2 separate regions of the Homo sapiens genome follow, and region 1 is linked to region 2. The links are contacts of gene promoters, found by promoter capture Hi-C in human tissues and cell types (Jung and others, 2019). All regions are on one chromosome and are shown on one strand. The core of a region is centred on a gene start or on the middle of the fragment in contact, and the rest is flanking DNA. Distances in the headings are between cores, read along the strand shown.

Region 1 (3,884 bases), core at 955-3,454, 300 kb after region 2:
CGCCGGCCCGCGAGCGGTGAGCGCCGGGCGCAGCCCCGGGTTCCGCCCGCGCCTCTCCCTCCACACTTCTCCGGGAGAGGAGGGAGCCGGCTCCGGCCTCGGCCAGCCCCAGAGAGGGACCCCCACAGCGCAGCGGCAGGCTGAAGGGCTCCTCCAGCGCGGCCAGAGCGGACGTCCTGGCTGAGGAGGCGCCGAGAGTGAGCGAGGGCTGCTAGCACGTTGTCACCTCTCACAGTCACTTGAGACCTTAAAAACAGTGTGTCTAAATGTTGTATTTCAAGGACCACCTAAAGCAGAATACTTTGGGATGCCTTCCAAATTCTTGACTGCTACTCCCGACCTTCTGAATTTAGAACTCTTGTGGGTAAAGCCCGGAATCTGAAAAGTTAACAAGAATCTCAAACAATTCCTGTGCAAACTAAAGCAAAGCTTGAAAGTCATTGTCGGAAAAAAGGTAGAATGTCAGTTTTCTCCACCAGTTTTCCAAGGGAACCCTAAATGCTAGTTAATGTCATATCCTTTAAATGTTCTCTATTGTTATGTAATAGCTAATTAGTGTTACCTTTCAGTTTCAATACTTCTTATATGGATGGTTTTCCATTCTCCAAAGTTAAATGGTGGAGATGAGAATGTGGATGAGAGGAAGGGAATTCTTACTTTTTCAGCAGGTGCTATTTGCCTGGTGCTTTAGCATTCATCTCATTTAATCCTCTTCACAATTTTGTAAACTGAGAATTACTAACTCTTACAGGTTGATTCAGAGAAAGCTCAGAGGAAAAAAAATCTTTTTTTGGGTCAGGGTCTCACTCTTGTCACCCAGGCTGGAGTGCAGTGGTGTGATTTCGGCTCATTGTAACCTCTGCCTCCCAGGCTCAAGCTATCCTCCTGCCTCAGCCTCCCGAGTAGCTGGGACCACGGGCATGCACCACTATGCCTGGCTAATTTTTTTTTTTTTTTTTTTTTGTAGAGACAAGGTCTTCTTACGTTGCCCAGGCTGGTCTCGAACTCCTGGGCTCAAGTGATACACCCACCTCGGGCCTCCAAAAGTGCTGGGATTACAGGTGTTAGCCACCGCACCCAGCCCCTCCTGTATACTTTAAATAATCTCTAAATTATTTATAATACCTAATAACAATGTAAATACTATGTAAATAGTTGTTATACTGTATTGTTTACAGACACCAAAAAGTCAGTCACCAGAAAGACCATGTGATTAGAGTGTTAGAGGGTTGGAAATTTCAGCCCACCCACCAACCAACAGGAGAGATCGGGGGCGGGTGGCTGGAGATTAAGCTCTATACAAACTCTTAGACAACAAGATTTCATGAGCTTCTAGGTTGCTGAATACAGGGAGGTGCTGGGAGGGTGGAGTGCCCAGCGAGGGCATGGAAGCCCCATGGCCTTCTTATCTTTGCCCTATCCATCTCTTCATCTGGCTGTTCATCTGTATCCTTTATAAATCCTTTACAATAAACTGGTAAACATAAAATATTTTCCTGGACTGACGTCTGAATTGGGGCAGTCTTGTGGGAGACTGGGCCCTTAACTTGAATTGAGTTATAGGACATCGTGTTGATGTCCTTTAGAGTTGGTTGGTGTGTAGGGAAATACTCCCCCAGCCCCTCTTCTGGTCACAGAACTGCTCTGTGTTTTGTGCCAGTAGAAAGGAGAAAACAGTTTGTTTTTTCCTTTTACAGCCTCATCATTTAGCTCTCAGCTCAAATGGTAATTTCTCAGAGAATCTTTTCTGGGCCATCCTACTTGTTATGGCACTACCTGTCATATTGCTCTGTTTTCTTCTTCAAGGTACTTATTATTATTTGAGATAGAGTCTTGCTCTGTTGCCCAGGCTGGAGTGCAGTGATGCAGTCATGGCTTGCTGCAGCCTCAACCTCCAGGGCTCAAGTGATCCTCCCACCTCAGCCTCTTGAGTGGCTGGGACTACAGGCACATGCCACCACATCTGGCTATTTTTTTTTTTTTTTTGAGACGGAGTCTCACTCTTTCGCCCAGGCTGGAGTGCAGTGGTGCGATCTTGGCTCACTGCAAGCTCCGCCTCTCGGGTTCACACCATTCTCCTGCCTCAGCCTCCTGAGTAGCTGGGACTTAGGCACCCGCCACCATGCCCAGCTAATTTTTTGTATTTTTAGTAGAGACGGGGTTTCACTGTGTTAGCCAAGATGGTCTCGATCTCCTGACTTCATGATCTGCCTACCTCGGCCTCCCAAAGTGCTGGGATTACAGGCGTGAGCCACTGTGCCTGGCCACATCTGGCTAATTTTTTAAAAACAATTTTTTGTGGAGATGGGGTCTTACTATGTTGCCCAGATTGGCCTCAAACTCCTGGTCTCAAGTGATCCTGAGCCTCGGCTTCCCAGAGTGCTGAGATTACAGGTGTGAGCCACCGTGCCTGGCCCAAAGCACTTATTTATTTGAAATGACATGATTTGTTGGCTACCTCTCCCACTAGAATGTTTATTATAACAACCTTTCATCTTTTGTTCATGACTGTCCAGAACTGTACATGGTACATGGTGGGAATCTAAAATAACAAACATTCTCTTGTTAAGGTAATTAGTGATTTCTACATTGCAAAATTCAGAGACCAAATTTTGCTTCAAGCTTTCAGCAACAGTGGACACTGTTGACCATTCTTTCTTTCTCTCAATTACCATATCCTATTGTCCTAGTTCTTCCTCCTTCTTCACCAGAGGTTACTTCTCAGATTCTTTCTAGAATCTTCTGCTTGAGGTTCAAATGTTAGTGTTTCCATAGCCTGGGCCTCCTTTTTTGTGGTATCTCAATTCTCTCATGTTACTGTGTCTCTTCCCACATGTCTTAGTTCATTTTGTGTTGCTATAACAGAATACCTGAGACTGGGAAATTTATAAAGTATAGAGATTTATTTCTTATGGTTCTGGAGGCTGGGAAATCCTAGGTCCAGGGGCCTGCATCTGGTGGGGAGCTTCCTGCTGTGTCATTTCACGGTGGTAGGCAAAAGAGAAAGGGAGCTGAACTCATCCCTTTTATCGGGAACCCACTCCCCAATAACTAACCCACTCCTGTGATAATAGCATTAAGAGCTCTGCCCTCATAACCTAATCACCCCTTAAGAGTCCCCCCTCTCAACACTATTGCTTTGGGGAATAAGTTTCCAACACATGAGCTTTGGGGGACACATTCAAACAATAGCATCATGACATTAAATGCTATCTTTATATTTACAACATAACTACCAAATTTACCTTAGTTTTGAACTTCAGACTTTTACAGTTTATCTATTTATTTGACACGTCTACCTGGATGCCTAATAGTCACCTCAAACTTAACATGTTGAGCATAGATTCTCTATTATCTCTTATTTCAGTCCTTGGTCCCAGCATTGGTTGGTTCCATGCCGAGGCCCCACTGCTCTGCCATCTCTTATTCCACTCTTCCCCTAACTTACTTTGCTTCAGTTATGGCCTTGTTTGCCTCTTGTCCCCCAAATTTTGTTTTATTCACTGCTGTATCCCCAATACTGATAACAGTGCCTGGCAGGTACTGTTAGGTACTAATAGGTGCTCAATATAATAATCTGGTAAACATAAAGTGTTTTTTTGAGTTCTGTGAGCCATTCTAGCAAATTATGGAACTCAAGATGGGGGGTTATGAAAACCCCAATTTATTTGTTGAGAGGGAGTCTCTCTCCATGGTCCAGGTGCAGTGGGGCAGTCTTGACTCACTGCAACTTTCGCCTCCCAGGTTCAAGCGATTCTCTTGCCTCAGCCTCCCAAATAGCTGGGATTACAGGTGTGCACCACCACGCCCAGCTATTTTTCCTATTTTTAGTAGAGGTGGGGTTTTGCCATGCTGGCCAGGCTGGTCTTAAAGTCCTGACCTCA
Region 2 (3,734 bases), core at 1,101-3,600:
CCTCTTTTGCTACCTACCAAAAGGAAAAAAAAAAGTTTTCTCAACTGGGTGAATAAAGAAAGATGGTTTCATATAATATTCTAACCCTGAGAAGCAAACAGATTGCACATCTAGCTGAAACAGAAAGATTTCTGAAGCGATGATTATCTTGATATGGTAAGTGAATTAGTTAAATATGGTAATTCCTAAAAAAGCACACTTGTCATTATTTTTAAATTTTTTTAAGTGGTAGGGAAAATAAATAGCAAAGCAGCCAGTAAAGTTCAAGAAAAAAAATCAGAACACACCATTCAACTCTCCATCGCTTTGAAAAAAGAAATGCCAGTAGCATTCCTACAATTGTAATTAGAAAACATGCAAGTAAACAACTCTTCAAATAGTCTTTTATAATAAAATAGAAAATGTCCTCGGGTGAAAAAGCAATTTTTGGCTGACTGCAATTCATTTAGGTTTTCACTACCATACAACTGGGTGACGAGTAAAATCTCCTATTTATTTTGCATTGTTTGGCATAGTCTCGCTCCTCTACCTTCTCCATCTAAATAGTTACCATTTTCCAAGTGGACAATGTGCAGAGAAGTTGTATGTATTAATGAATTCCTCTGCAATTTTGGTTTCACTATCAGAATTGAAGTTTGCACACAACATAGTGTCTCAACAATGATCTCAACATTCTAACGCTTTAGAATCCGTTTACCTTCTGTGTTCACCTATATCAGGATCCAATACCTGTGTGAATCTTTTCGGGTCATATTTAGACGTGCACTTTCCTGCATCTACACACACTCTCAAGTTCCTCTAGAATGTTTAAGAACTCAACTGTGTGGGATGTTAAGAAGTACGCCAGAAATAATTTCTTGGACTCCAGATAACGTACCTGCAAAAAGAGTCATTTGGTAGGATACCACAAATATCCTACTGAATTCTGAAACGTTTGTTCCTGAGTCCGACTCCCCTTCTGACCACATCTACTCAATTTTGTTTCCACCGAAGGAACGCTCCGCAGTCACAAAACTTTCATCATGATTACGGACGCACCACCTAAAATGCATGCTCAGAAGTCAAAGTCCTATGAAAATACCCTCGATGAGCATTTGGTGAATTGCTGCGTTTTTAACCCTCTTACTCTGCTCCCCTCAGCTGCACGGCCCCTAAAATCACAAGCGTTCACCGCCCAGGCTCGGGGTCTTTGACTCAGCAGAGAAGAATGTGGCTGATGAGTTATCTATTAATCCAAAAAACCTCGGCTAGAAAGATATTTCACCAAGAACTTTTAACACGGAAAGGGAGGGGGCAGGGAATAGAGGTATCTTTTAACGAGAACTTTCCCCCGAGTTTCTTCCTTAAACTGCTCCCCCCCCGACCCTGAATCCATACACAATTTCCAGCCCCGGCCCTAAGTCCTGACCCTCCGAGTCCCGATTATCTGAGGTCACCCAGGAGTCAGCTCTCGGTTCCACTTATAAATCCCGGGCAAACAAAGCTGAGCATTATACTTACAAAAGTCTCCGAAAAGTCCTTGGAGTTACGCAATTTGGGGCCCGCAGACGCGCGTGGACACAAAAACACACGCTCCCGAGATCCACCCTCCCCGGGCCACACTGTGGGGCTGCGTCCGGGGCACGGGCCATGCCTGAACCTTCTTCCACCGCCGCGCCCCGGGCCCGCGCCCCGCCGGCCGCCCGCACTGGGTCCCGCGTCGCCCCCGCCACCACACCGAGCCGCCCAGTACCTCCTCCTCCTGAAGGTTGGCCTCGCTCGGGGTGTTCTCCTTCTCGGCTTTGCCGCCGTTGTTCATCTTCCCGGTCCTTCCTCGCCGGGCCGGGCAGGGCTGGGGCGCGGGGCTGGGCGAGGGCGCGCTAGCCCACTGGAGCCTTCCCCGGGCGCCGGGGCTCCCTCGGGCGGGCGCCGCGGGCTGTGGGGCTGGAGCTGGAGCCGGGGCAGTGGCTGTCGGGCTCGGGTTGGGCTGGGGCTCCCGCGGCGAGTCTGCGACGGCGGCGGCGGGCGACTCAGGAAGTGCAAGGGAGAGACGGGGCAGGGCGCGGGCCGGGAGCGGGGCACCGAGACAATCGGGCCCCGGGAGGGCGACCTGGAGAGGGAGGGCGGGAGCCAGGGGAGGAAGGAAGAAGGAAGGAAGGAAGGAAGCAAAGGATGGGGCGAGGACGCGCGTCCCAGGAGTAAGCGCGGAGAGTTGGGGCTGGGGGCTGCAGCCGCTGGAAGGAGGGGACGGGGGTGCCTAGAGAGGAGGAGGAGGAGGAAGAGGAGGAGGAGGAGCGGGGCGGAGGAGCGCGGGCCGCGGCTGGGACGCTGGGACCCGAGAGCCGCTGAGTACGCGCTCCAGGCAGGCTCTGGGAAGTCCGGGATGGAAGCAGCTCCCTTTCTCTCGCCTTCCTCCCTCCCCTCTCCCCTCCCTCCTCTCCGCGCCTCTCCTCCTCCCTCCGCCCTCCCTGGACGTGGGCTGCCGGCTGCAGCCCGGAGGGACGGGGCGCGGGACGGAGCCCCCCGCGGGAGGAGGGGCCGGCGGCCGGATGGCGCGCGCCGGGGAGGGGCAGCGGGCCGCGGGCGGAAGCGGCGACCCCAGCCCCCGACTCAGCGGCTGGTCGGAGGGCGAGGGCCCGGGAGGCCGAGGGCAGGGAGGTCGGGTCCCGCCGTTCCCTTGGCCCCCGGGGGCCCCGGCGTCTGCGCGCCCCGGGACTTCGGGGACCCTGCCCCGCCGGGGCCTGGACCGGGACCTGGGATGTGTGCGACTTTTAGTTTGCCGGCTTTTACCGAGGGATTTGCACCCCTGGCCCTAAGCCCACCCTTCCCGAGCCAGACCCGGTTCTTCCTCTGCTGCTTGAATGACAGCATGAGAACTCGAGGGACACCGGGGACAGCCCACTCCGGGCCGGCTTTTTCAGGACAGGGCTTCAAACCCATCTCCAGCGCGGGTCCTGCGACGCGCCCGGAGCCTTCCCCGCTTCGCTTCCTGAGCGTCCCGCGGCCCCCCGACTCCTCTCCCAACTCTCACCAGACTGTTCTGGGATTGTTTACCTGGCCTCTCCCTCACCCTTCAGAAAGCTCCTTCCTGGAAGAAAAAAAAAAATCCTGCCCTATTTATCTTTTTAATCCCACGGCTATTTAAACGGGCTAAGGGGTATATAGCAGGCACTCAATAAATATTTGTTGGCAAAGTGAATATTCCTTATTGCAGGCAGAGCTGGGGGTCCGTACGGAGGAACTTCAGAGGCTGGAAGCACGCTTGAAAAAGAAAGGGGGCCTGGGCTTTGCACCAGCTTCAGGATTGCGTACTTGTTTCCTCATCCGTGAAATGGGAGCAGCTGAATGTGTCTCCTCGAGTTTTCGAGGTGATTATAGGTTGATAGAGCTATATACAGCACCCAGCATTTATTCTTGCTTCGTTTAGGTTTACAATACATGGAAGCTAACATTATTATTAAGAAAACTTCTATTTTTCCAGGGCCTTAGAAAGCGTTTCCAATACTCGATCATTTAAGCTTATGGTTTTTTGGTTTTTTTTTTTTTTAGAAAAATGAGGGTCTCACTTTGTTGCTCAGGCTGAGCTCGAGCTCCTGGCCTCAAGTGATCCTCCTGCTTTTGGCCTCCCAAACTGATGGGATTACAACGTGGAGCCACCGTGTTAAACTCTTAGATTTGACTGCTACAAAGGTATAAATGTGGAACTCCATATATCAGTGGGTTCTGCCCCACTTCTTCCTCCCAGGAATTCTCCA

What was found. The method cuts DNA at HindIII sites, captures the fragments that hold promoters and counts their contacts. A contact is called where the count stands out against the background at its distance.
Region 1: a contact is called between a fragment that was not itself captured here and the fragment with the promoter of RBPMS in region 2, in 1 of the 25 tissues and cell types used here (heart right ventricle).

The regions. Positions count from the first base shown.
Region 1 is chr8:30,084,318-30,088,201 of GRCh38, reverse strand. No RefSeq gene overlaps it. Among named protein-coding and RNA genes, the nearest start is that of SARAF, 3.2 kb to the right of the region's middle. The HindIII fragment of the contact is 4,614 bases long and covers 1-3,884 here.
Region 2 is chr8:30,383,157-30,386,890 of GRCh38, reverse strand. It overlaps RBPMS (RNA binding protein, mRNA processing factor), which reads right to left and starts at 2,350. Exons shown (of 9, transcript NM_001008710.3): 1 at 1,733-2,350. The coding sequence starts at 1,798. It overlaps RBPMS-AS1 (RBPMS antisense RNA 1), which reads left to right and starts at 1,490. Exons shown (of 3, transcript NR_046205.1): 1 at 1,490-1,747; 2 at 3,194-3,347. RefSeq lists enhancers at 1,221-1,892, 1,893-2,563. The HindIII fragment of the contact is 17,890 bases long and covers 1-3,734 here.